Linked DNA regions of Homo sapiens: region 2 is linked to region 1. The links are contacts of gene promoters, found by promoter capture Hi-C in human tissues and cell types (Jung and others, 2019). All regions are on one chromosome and are shown on one strand. Each heading gives the region's core, a stretch centred on a gene start or on the middle of the fragment in contact. The rest is flanking DNA. Distances are from core to core; before and after follow the strand shown.

Region 1 (5,989 bases), core at 1,860-4,359:
TGGCAGCCATCCCGAGGACACAGGTAAGAAGCCAACAGAGAAGCAAGAATGTGTCTTATTAAAGCTGCTCCACTCCACAAGCATCTCTGGAATGTTCTCTGGGCCCCGGATCTGCGCGAGGCATTCTGGGTGAGACAGAGACGAAGCCGCTTGAGCTCGGAAGCCGGTGCTCAAAGAGCGTGACGTGGCCTCACCCCATTCCTCTGCAGGGCTCAGCTGGCACCTGCACCCCCGAGGTAGCTGGGGGCCCCTGAGCTTGGCCAGGCCCATCTGGCAGCCTTGTCCCTGCTTGTCCACCCCCTCTGGGTTGCGTTCAGCTTCCTGAGCTCCCCCTCTTCACCCGTTCCTAACACAAGAGCTTGTGCACCCCAGGATGGTGGGGATGGGGTTCTGGCTCGTGGGCAATCTGGGTGTCAGGCTTACGGCCCCAGTGGCTCCGGGTCATGGCCTTGGCCCCACAATGGCTGTGCTGCCCCATCAGTGGTCTCTGCAGCTGGGGAAATGCCTGGTCCTTCTGGAGATACAGGAGTGTTGGATTCCCCGATTATGGCCACGTCCTGTTCCTCTGGTACCATCCACCCACCAAGTCTTGCCACGGTTTCCCTCTGGGCCTCAAATCCAGCTGTCCATCCCAACATCTGTCTCAAGTGGCCTCTCCTGTACCCAGCTGCCCAGGAAGCGATCCAAAGGCTCCGTCCCAGGCTGCTGAGGTGACTGAGGACCTTGAGAGGGTCCTACACTCTCAGACCAGGGTGAGGCCGAGGCCCGAGAGGCAAGTCCCTGCCCAGGCCCTGGCTGGCCAGGACGCGCTGGCCACAGCTTCCCAGAGTGGACGCTGCCCTGCACCCGCCAACACTTCCCCGTCAGCTTCCCGGTCCCACACCGCTCCTGCTGGCAACGAGGTCGCAGCATATTAAATTCTCGACGCAACTACTGTGTGAAAAAGCCATGCAAACCAGCGAGGAGCCTGCTTACCACAGGGGCCCTCAGAGGGCTCTGCTGCTCCTCGGTCAAAACCTCCTTTAGGCAGTGACTCTGGCAGCTGCCGGCTGGGCTGTGTCCTGAGAACTGAGGCTGGGAGGGGCCAGGTGGGAGGGACCTCATCCTCCAGGCGCCCACTGGCCCAGCCCTGAGTGTTCACGACAGGTGCAGGGCTCCCTCCCCGGCCCCCTTCTGGCCAGGGCAGCCACAGCTCAGCCCCGAGGCCTTGAGTGGCCTTTTCAGAGAAAACCAGGACCTGGGGGCTCCTCCCGGGAGCCTCTGACCCCCAGACCCATAAACAGGCTTCTCTGTGGGGTCCCTCAACCACTACTTTCCTCTCACCTGAGGGGACCAGCCAGACAGCTCAGGCACCCGAGTCTTTAGGGAATGAGCTCACTGCCCTCTCCACCCACAGCAGGACACCTGGCAGCCAAAGCCCCACACCTGCCCCTATCCCAGGACTGGGACGAGGAAGCCCCAGGGTGAGGGGTGGCCCTGATCTGAGCCCTAACCTGGTGGGGGTGGCAGGCAGCCCCAGGTGTGTGGATGACCTGAGCCAGGCACAGACAGCTGCCAGGTGGGGAGGAGCAGAGGTCATGGGGATGTAGGGAAAGGGTTTGGGGGTTCCTCCCACAGGGCCACTGTGTGAGACAATTTGTCACTTTCTTACAAAACTAAACACACTCTGACCACAGCATCCAGCAATCTCACTCCTTAGAGTTTACCAAAATGAGTTGAGAACTTATGTCTACAGACACCTGCACATGAATATTTGTAGTAGCTTTATTCATAATTGCCCAAACCTGGGAGCAACCAAGATGTCTTTCCATAGGTGAATGGATAAATAAACCATGGTACATCCAGACAATGGAATACCATTCAGTGTTAAAAAATAAGTGAGCTGGCCATGCAAGGTGGCTCACGTCTGTAATCCCAGCACTGTGGGAGGCAGAGGCAGGCGGATCACTTGAGCCCAAGTGTTTGATACCAGTGTGGGCAACATGGTGAGGCCCTGTCTCACAAAAAATACAAAACTTATCGGGGTGTGCACCAGCACCTGTAGTCCCAGCTATTTGGGAGGCTGAGGTGAGAAAATCACAGGAGCCCAGGAGGTTGAGGCTGTAGTAGCTGTGATTTCACCAGTGCATTCCAGCCTGGGTGACAGAGCAAGACTCTGTCTCAAAAAAAAAAAAAAAAAAAAAAAGAAGTGAACTATCAAACCACAAAAGACATGGAAGAACCAAAGTGCGTATTACTAAAAAAGAAGTTGAAAAGGCTACATAATGTATGAGTCCAGCTCTGTGACATTTTGGAAAAGGCAAAATTAAGGAGACAGTCAAAAGATTCCTGGTTGCCAGGGGCTGGGAGAGGGAGTGATGAAAATGCAGAACACAGATGAATCGGGGCGGAGAAACCCGTCTGTACAATATTAGAGTGGTGGGTCTGCATGATTATACATGTGTCCAAACCTGCAGAATGCACAGCACCGGAGGAAAGCATAATGGAAACTGCAGAGGGCGATGATGATAATAACAACGTGTAACAAATGGCTGGGACGGGAGGACTGGGGAAGGCTGTGCACCTGCAGGAGCAGGGGAGCGGTGGGAGAGCTCCATGCTTTTGGCTCAATTTTGCTATGAACCTAAAACTGCTGTAAAAAATAGAGTCTACTGAAAAAACAAGTGTTAATTTATAAGCGTCTTGTTTAAAGAGCGAAGAGATGAACCACAAAGGGGAAAATGTGTTTAAACAATAACTAATTGACAATTGGCTGGTTCTTAAAATTCAGAGAACTTTAAGACAGAGACAGCAAAGCAGGGATCACGTTTTACAAACGCGGCAGGACCAGGACGTCGTGCCCACGACGGGCCAGCAACCACAGGCTGGATGCTCACCCTGTGCCAGCCTGCAGACGGAGAGCACCCACCCCAATCTCCAGCCCCCAGAGGAGCTGCCTCTCCAGGGCCTTCCTGCAGGTGCCCAGGGGCTGCACATGGCCCTCCTTGGAGGGAGCTGGTGACTCAGCACTTTCATTTCCTGGAAACTGAGGCTCATGGGAGATATGCAGATGAGCCCAGAGCACCATGGGAAATGGCCCTTTATATACCCAAATGGGCTCTGCCTCCTCCTTTCCCTGGGTGCCCACATGAACAGAGACACCAGGATGGTGAGATCTCCCGAGGAGGGGTCTCTGAGGAGGGGTCTCGGAGACACGGCCTGGTGCTGGGTGAGGGGTTGGGAGGCTGAAGCGGGGCCAGGATTCCTCAGGTTCCCTCAGTTTCCCTCAAATTTCCCTCAGTTTCCCTCAGGTTCCCTAAGGTTCTCCAAGTTCCCTCAAATTTCCCTCAGTTTCCCTCAGGTTCCCTCAGTTTCCCTCAAGTTTCCCTCAGTTTCCCTCAGGTTCCCTCAGTTTCCCTCAGGTTCCCTCAGTTTCCCTCAAGTTTCCCTCAGTTTCCCTCAGGTTCCCTCAGTTTCCCTCAAGTTTCCCTCAGGTTCCCCCAGTTTCCCTCAAGTTTCCCTCAGCTTCCCTCAGGTTCCCCCAGTTTCCCTCAGGTTCCCTCAGTTTCCCTCAAGTTTCCCTCAGTTTCCCCCAGTTTCCCTCAAATTTCCCTCAGTTTCCCTCAGGTTCCCTCAGTTTCCCCCAGCTTCCCTCAGGTTCCCTCAGTTTCCCTCAAGTTCCCCTCAGTTTCCCCCAGTTTCCCTCAGGTTCCCCCAGTTTCCCTCAAGTTCCCCTCAGGTTCCCCCAGTTTCCCTCAAGTTTCCCTCGGGTTCCCCCAGTTTCCCTCAGGTTCCCCCAGTTTCCCTCAGTTTCCCTCAAGTTTCCCTCAGGTTCCCCCAGTTTCCCTCAGGTTCCCTCAGTTTCCCTCAAGTTTCCCTCAGGTTCCCCCAGTTTCCCTCAGGTTCCCTCAGGTTCCCCCAGTTTCCCCCAGGTTCCCCCAGTTTCCCCCAGTTTCCCTCAAGTTTCCCTCAGGTTCCCCCAGTTTCCCTCAGGTTCCCTCAGTTTCCCTCAAGTTTCCCTCAGGTTCCCCCAGTTTCCCTCAGGTTCCCTCAGTTTCCCTCAGGTTCCCCCAGTTTCCCCCAGGTTCCCCCAGTTTCCCCCAGTTTCCCTCAAGTTTCCCTCAGGTTCCCCCAGTTTCCCTCAGGTTCCCTCAGGTTCCCCCAGTTTCCCCCAGTTTCCCTCAGGTTCCCCCAGTTTCCCTCAGGTTCCCTCAGTTTCCCTCAGGTTCCCCCAGTTTCCCTCAGTTTCCCCCAGTTTCCCTCAAGTTTCCCTCAGGTTCCCCCAGTTTCCCTCAGGTTCCCTCAGTTTCCCTCAGGTTCCCCCAGTTTCCCTCAGGTTCCCTCAAGTTTCCCTCAGGTTCCCCCAGTTTCCCTCAGGTTCCCTCAGGTTCCCTCAGTTTCCCTCAGGTTCCCCCAGTTTCCCTCAGTTTCCCCCAGTTTCCCTCAAGTTTCCCTCAGGTTCCCCCAGTTTCCCTCAGGTTCCCCCAGTTTCCCTCAGGTTCCCTCAGTTTCCCTCAGGTTCCCCCAGTTTCCCTCAGGTTCCCTCGGGTTCCCTCAAGTTTCCCTCAGGTTCCCCCAGTTTCCCTCAGGTTCCCTCAGTTTCCCTCAAGTTTCCCTCAGGTTCCCCCAGTTTCCCTCAGGTTCCCCCAGTTTCCCTCAAGTTTCCCTCAGGTTCCCCCAGTTTCCCTCAGGTTCCCCCAGTTTCCCTCAGGTTCCCTCAGTTTCCCCCAGTTTCCCTCAGGTTCCCCCAGTTTCCCTCAGGTTCCCTCAGTTTCCCCCAGTTTCCCTCAAGTTTCCCTCAGGTTCCCCCAGTTTCCCTCAGGTTCCCTCAGTTTCCCTCAGGTTCCCCCAGTTTCCCTCAGGTTCCCTCAGTTTTCCCCAGTTTCCCTCAGGTTCCCTCAGTTTCCCTCAGGTTCCCTCAGTTTCCCCCAGTTTCCCTCAGGTTCCCCCAGTTTCCCTCAGTTTCCCTCAGGTTTCCTCAAGTTGCCTCAGTTTCCTTCAGGTTCCCTCAATTTCCATCAGGTCCCCTCAGGCTCTGCCAGTTTCCCTCAGGTTCCCCCAGTTTCCCTCAGGTTCCCTCAGTTTCCCCCAGTTTCCCTCAGGTTCCCCCAGTTTCCCCCAGTTTCCCTCAAGTTTCCCTCAGGTTCCCCCAGTTTCCCTCAGTTTCCCCCAGTTTCCCTCAGGTTCCCCCAGTTTCCCTCAGTTTCCCTTAGGTTTCCTCAAGTTGCCTCAGTTTCCTTCAGGTTCCCTCAATTTCCATCAGGTCCCCTCAGGCTCTGCCAGTTTCCCTCAGGTTCCCCCAGTTTCCCTCAGGTTCCCTCAGTTTCCCCCAGTTTCCCTCAGGTTCCCTCAGTTTCCCCCAGTTTCTCTCAGGTTCCCCCAGTTTCCCTCAGTTTCCCCCAGTTTCCCTCAGGTTCCCCCAGTTTCCCTCAGGTTCCCTCAGGTTCCCCCAGTTTCCTTCAGGTTCCCTCAATTTCCATCAGGTCCCCTCAGGCTCTGCCAGTTTCCCTCATGTTCCCCCAGGTTCTGTCAGGTGAAGCTGATGGGCTGTTGGGGTCCCTGAGGTGTAGGGGGTGGCTGATGAGCCCGGGGAGGTCGGATGGAGGAACTGAAGGCCTCCCAGCCCCGGTGCTGTTCAAACTGAGCAGGGTCCCCACTAAAGGGCCAGTCTGAACCCCAACATCCCTGCCCCTGCTGGTCCCCACAGTTTGCCCCCACCCTGCCTGCTGGGGGTGCCTAACCTCCCTTCCTTTGCCTTTCCAGCTCTCCTGAGACCACAGCAACTGCAGAAGCTGAAGACATTTCCAGAAGTTCAAGCTTCCACCCTCTGCAGGTCCCCACTGAGCTGGGACCCAGGTCATCCACCCCACCCCAAATCCCTGGATAGGAAACCCCTTTCTCCTCCTGCTCCTTGTCCCCTTCATCCCTGCCGCCCAGCATCCTACTGGCCTCAGCACCTGTGGCCAGACCGTCCAAGATCCTCTGAAGGCCCAGCTCTTGCTGTCCACCC
Region 2 (5,989 bases), core at 1,558-4,057, 120 kb after region 1:
AACCTCATCTCTACTAAAAAATACAAAAATTGGCCAGGCATGATGGCGGGCACCTGTAATCCCAGTTACTCGGGAGACTGAGGTGGGAGGATCACTTGAACCTGGGAGGCGGAGGTTGCAGTGAGCCGAGATTATGCCACTGCACTCTAGCCTGGGTGACAGAACGAGACTCCGTCTCAAAAAAAAAAAAAAAGAGGAAGCCTAAAAGTAGATCTTTTAGTACGTGATTTAAGCTGAATATGCTCCTCTCTCCTGCAGGGGTGCACTATGTATTTGATACGACGATAGCTGCGGATTTTAGTATCCTGGAGAGTCAAAAAGAATTCGTGCGTCGCTATCGCCAGCACAGTGAGGAGGAACGCACCCTGCCCATGCTGACCTCTGCCTGTCCTGGTGAGCCCCTGGACCCCCGCTCTGTTGGCCTGAGGTGCCAAAAGAGGTTTCACAAGATTCTGCAGGCTCTAGATGAGGTTGGAGGCAGACAGACCCATCCCACCCAGCCTTGTAGACCAGGAGGGAAGAGCTTGGCCTGATTCACAGAGGGTGTTTGATGTTTTGGGACAGCCAATTTAGTTTTTCATCAGAGGTGCCACACTGGAAAGGCCAGTATGGTTATTTATTTAATTTTATTTTATTTTTATTATTTTTTTTTTGAGACAGAGTCTCGCTCTGTCACTCAGGCTGGAGTGCAGTGGCACGATCTCGGCTCACTGCAAGCTCCACCTCCCGGGTTCAAGCGATTCTCCTGCCTTAGCCTGCCAAGTAGCTGGGACTACAGGTGCACGCCACTGCACCCAACTAATTATTGTATTATTAGTGGAGATGGGGTTTTGCCATATTGGCCAGGCTGGTCTTGAACTCCTGATCTCAGGTGATCTGCCTGCCTCGGGCTCCCAAAGTGCTGGGATTACAGGCGTGAGCCACTGTGCCCAGTCTAGGCAGATCTCTTGAGCCCAGGAGTTTGAGACCAGCCTGGGCAACATGTCTCTATTTTTTTTTTTTTTTTGGAGACGGAATCTCAGTCTGTTGCCCAGGCTGGAGTGCAGTGGTGTGATCTCGGCTCATTGCAACCTCCACCTCCCAGGTTCAAGCGATTCTTTTTTTTTTGTTGTTGAGACAGAGTCTCGCTCTGTCACCCAGACTGGAGTGCATCCTGCCTCACCCTCCCGAGTAGCTGGGACTACAGGCGCCTGCCACCACACCCGGCTAATTTCTTTTTGTATTTTTAGTAGAGACGGGGTTTCACCGTGTTAGTCAGGATGGTCTCGATCTCCTGACCTCGTGATCTGCCTGCCTCGGCCTCCCAAAATGCTGGGATTACAGGCGTGAGCCACTGTGCCTGGCCAGGTTCAAGCGATTCTTATGCCTCAGCCTCCCCAGTAGCTGGGATTACAGGCTAGCGCCACCACGCCTGGCTAATTTTTGTATTTTTAGTAGAGATGGGGTTTCGCCATGTTGCCCAGGCTGGTCTTGAAATCCTGACCTCAAGTGATCTGCCCGCCTTGGCCTCCCAAAGTGCTGGGATTACAGACATGAGCCACCACACCCGTCCTCTAATTTTTTAAATAAATATTTTTTAAAAGGAAAAGAAAAATAGGCCAGGCATGGTGGCTCACAGCCATAATCCCAACAATTTAGAAGGCTGATGTGGGAGGATTGCTTTAGCCCAGGAGTGTGGGACCAGTCTCGTCAACATAGTGAGACCTCGTCTCTGCAAAAAAAAACAAAAAAAAGCCAGGGGTGGTGGCAAGTACCTGTAATCACAGCTACTACGAATCCTAGCCTGAGGTGTTTGAGCCAAGGAGTTAGAGGCTGCAGTGAGCTATGACTCCTCCATTGTACTCCAGCCTGGGCGAAAGACTGAGGTCCTGTCTCTTAAGAAAATCCGTTTTCTCTTGAAAGTACAACATATCTCAGATGTACAAATAATTATGGAATAATATGGCAAACGTGCATGTATCTTTTGCCAGCTTAAAAAAAATACAGAATAAGAAAATTTCTTTACATTGATATTCAGATACTCTCAGGGCGCACTGTTTAAACCACTCTTTAATTGGTTTTTGGATGCCTGAGTTATAGAAGAGATTTGTCACATGCTTTTCAATTCTGGAAAAATAGAGAGTTTGGGTTAAGAAATCTTCGATGATGCATAAGGGAATAAGGAAGGAATGGCTATCCTGGCAAACAACACTAGTTAAAAATTATTCTACTACATGAGGCCTGTGGGAGCATAGGAGAGCTCTATCTAAGCTAGTCGTAGGCTGTATAATTTTTAGGGTTTGGTTCACGTTTCAGTTCTTAATTTATGCTCCCCCTACAATGGTTTCAAATTTTTCTGGCATTTTACATGTCAACCTTTAGTCATTAGGATTATGAATTAATAAGATGGAACATTGACATCGTGGTTGCTTAGAATACGGACTTACTCTCTAGCCATTTATAAAATATAAAGAGGAAATTTACCATCTGTTCCATGGGCTGCATTGGTTGGCTCGTTATTTGAGCTGTATCGTTCACCAGCAACCCACAGCCTGCTGTGATCTCAGCTCCAGATGGGGACAGGGATGTTAGTGACTTCTTTCAGCTGTATGGTTTGCCTTACTGTAAGTGATTCACAGATTTTTGTATCAGAGGTCGAAGTATAAGCCATTTGACGCCAGATACAGCCTTTTACTAGATTGTGGGTGTTACATTCAGCTCTTGTGGCATTTTGGGTGTGTTTCCAGGTGTAAAGGGATAATTTCCACACCTGATGGTTTCTGGGGCTGCCTGGACTCCAGCAACCTGGGAGTACCTGGTGTTTGTGTGCTGAGCCTGAGCCTGCCTCTGTGGTCCCCTTGCAGGAGTGCTTTCCTTTTGGGACCCTGTTACATGATACCACACACAACATGGCTTCACAACACCAGTCACACTTGCTTAGTTCCACCCCCAACCAAGGAAGAGGCCGTGTAAAATGACAACGAACTAAGGCCCATGCCCCTGGAGCAGTGGTTTTTAAATTATAAAAAATTTAGGCCGGGCGCAGTGGCTCACGCCTGTAATCCCAGCACTTTGGGAGGCCGAGGTGGGCGGATCACAAGGTCAGGAGATTGAGACCATCCTGGCTAACACGGTGAAACCCCGTCTCTACTAAAAATACAAAAAATTAGCCAGGTGTGGCGGGCACCTGTAGTCCCTGCTACTCGGGAGGCTGAGGTGGGAGCTTCACTGGAACCCAGGAGGTCGAGGCTGCAGTGAGCCGTGATTGCACCACCGCACTCCAGCCTGGGTAACAGAGCAACCCTGTCAATCATACATATATACTACATACATACAGCAAATCTCAAGCTAAAATAGGAAGCAAGGGGCTGGCCTGCAGCCAGTGGCTGGAGAAGAGAAAGGATTTGGTGACACATTTCTCAGAAATGCCGTCACTGAGAAGAGACCTCTCAGGGCCCCTACCTAGCATTGTGTTCACTGCCACAGGCGGAGGGATCACCGTTTCTATACAAATCAGCAATCTGCTCAGGATTCACATCAGCAGAGTTAGTTCCTTCAGTGACTTGAGAAGGTTCCATCCCAGTAGGACCTCTCATAAGGAAATCAACAAATGTAAGGAGACTGCAAAAAGTTTGTGGAAGAACAGAATTAAAAGATAAAAAGTATAAACTTTATTTCTCAACATAAGCTCCATCCTGGTCAAGACTTTTTTTTATTTTTTATTTTATTTATTTATTTATTGAGACAGAGTCTCGCTCTGTCACCCAGGCTGGAGTGCATTGGTGTGATCTTGGCCCACTGCAACCTCCATCCCCCAGGTTCAAGTGATTCTCCCAACTCAGCCTCCTGAGAAGTTGGGATTGCAGGTGCATGCCACCATGCCCAGCTAATTTTTGTATCTGTAGTAGAGACAGGGTTTTACCATTTTGGTCAGGCTGGTCTCAAACTCCTGACCTCAGGTGATCGCCCGCCTCAGTCTCCCAAAGTGCTGGGATTACAGGCACTTGCCACCATGCCCGGCTAATTTTTGTATTTTTAGTAGAGACGGGGTTGCACCATGTTGGCCAGGCCAGTCTCAAACTCCTGACCTCAGGTGATCCGCCTGCCTCGGCCTCCCAAAGTGCTGGGATTACAGCAGTGAGCCACTGTGCCCAGCTAACACTTTTTTGTTTGTTTGTTTGTTTTGAGATGGAGTCTCGCTCTGTTGCCCAGGCTGGAGTGCAGTGGCGTGATCTCGGCTCCTCTGCCTCCTGGGTTCAAGCGATTCTGCTGCCTCAGCCTCCTGAGTAGCTAGGATTAGAGGCATGCACCACCACGCCTGGCTAATTTTTGTATTTGTAATAGAGACACGGTTTCACTTTGTTGGTCAGGCTGGCCTTGATCTCCTGACCTCGATGATCTGCCTTCCTTGGACTCCCAAAGTGCTGGGATTACAGGCATGAGCCACCACACCTGGCGTTTTTGAGACGGAGTTTCGCTCTTGTTGCTCAGGCTAGAGTGCAATAGCGAGATCTCAGCTCACTGCAACCCCCACCTCCCAGGTTCAAGCCATTCTCCTGCCTCAGCCTCCCAAGTAGCTGGGATTAGAGGCGCCTGCCACCACGCCCAGCTAATTTTTATATTTTCAGTAGAGACAGGGTTTCACCATGTTGGCCAGGCTGGAATAGAACTCCCGACCTCAGGTGATCCACCCGCCTCGGCCTCCCAAAGTGTGCTGGGATTAGAGGTGTGAGCCACTCCACCCAGCCAACAGTTTTTTAAGCAGGATCTTACTTTGTTGCCCACGCTGGAGTGCGGCAGCTCAATCATGGCTCACGAGAGCTTCAACCTCTTGGGCTCAAGTGATCCTCCCATCTTAGCCTTCCAAGTAGCTGGGACCACAGGCGTGCGCCACCAGCTAATTTTTATATTTATTTATTTTTTTTAAGACAGAGTCAGGCCAGGCAGGGTGGCTCACGCCTGTAATCCCAGCATTTTGGGAGGCCGAGGCGGGAGGATCTCCTGAGGTCAAGAGTTCGAGACCAGCCTGACCAACATGGTGAAACCCTGTCTCTACTAAAAATACAAAAATTGGCCACACACGGTGGCGCACACTTGTAGTCCCAGCTGCTTGGGAGGCTGAGGCAGAAGAATCGCTTGAACCCGGGAGCCAGAGGTTACAGTGAGCCAAGATCGTGTGACTGCACTCCAGCCTGGGTGACAGAGCAAGACTGTCTCAAAAAAAAAACAAAAACAACCAAAAAAACAACACAGAGTCTTGCTCTGTCATCCAAGCTTGGAGAGCAGTGATGCAATCATAGCTGACTCCAGCCTCGAACTCCTGGGCTCAAAGCCATCCTCCTGCCTCAGTCTCCCAAGTAGCTAGGACTACAGGTGTGCACCACCACGCCTGGATGATTTTTTTATTTTTCTAGAGACAGAGTCTCACCGTGTTGCCTAGGCTGGTCTTGAAATCCTGCCCTCAAGTGATCCGCCTGCCTCACAGTCCCAAAGTGTTGGGATTACAGGCGTGAGCTACTGCGCCCGGCCCTGGGGCATTTCTCTCTGTGGCTGCTTCTGTGTCTCTGTGGGTGTTTCCTGAGCACACACGGGCGTCTTTATAGGTGAAACTTTGATTGTTAAATGGGATTATCATGTCTGACTGTGGGACATGAGCTGCCTCTCACCCTCTGGGCGACCTTCCCCGCCAGGAGTAGAGTCTCCCAAGGTATCTACCCAGCCCCTGTTTGAGGGCAGGTTGCGTGGCTCTCATGTACACAGGTGTGCAAGTGTCTGTGGGGTCAGGTCCTAAAATCAGTTGCCAGGTCAGCAAGTTCTGTGATGTTCTTATGCACTCTGACTGGGCTGTACGCCTGCGGGAAAGGAGTAGGCAGGGCTCCTGCGGTGGAATTGCTGTTGTGTGGTCAGCTGCAGTGGTGACTTGTGTTCACCCTGGAAACCACAGCAGCACTCAACCTCAGGAAAGTGCTCAGATTGTGCGGGCATGTAGTGACACTACAGATGTTGCTAT

What was found. Contacts are between HindIII fragments. The study calls those that stand out against the background at their distance.
Region 2: a fragment that was not itself captured here is called in contact with the fragment with the promoter of TEX19 in region 1 in 5 of the 25 tissues and cell types used here (IMR-90 fibroblasts, dorsolateral prefrontal cortex, mesenchymal stem cells and 2 more).

The regions. Positions count from the first base shown.
Region 1 is chr17:82,356,138-82,362,126 of GRCh38, forward strand. TEX19 (testis expressed 19) reads left to right here and starts at 3,110. Exons shown (of 2, transcript NM_207459.4): 1 at 3,110-3,148; 2 at 5,743-5,989. RefSeq lists an enhancer at 1-687 and a silencer at 4,296-4,590. The HindIII fragment of the contact is 14,968 bases long and covers 1-5,989 here.
Region 2 is chr17:82,472,306-82,478,294 of GRCh38, forward strand. NARF (nuclear prelamin A recognition factor) reads left to right here. Exons shown (of 11, transcript NM_012336.4): 5 at 259-393. Among named protein-coding and RNA genes, the nearest start is that of NARF, 17 kb to the left of the region's middle. The HindIII fragment of the contact is 9,427 bases long and covers 1-5,989 here.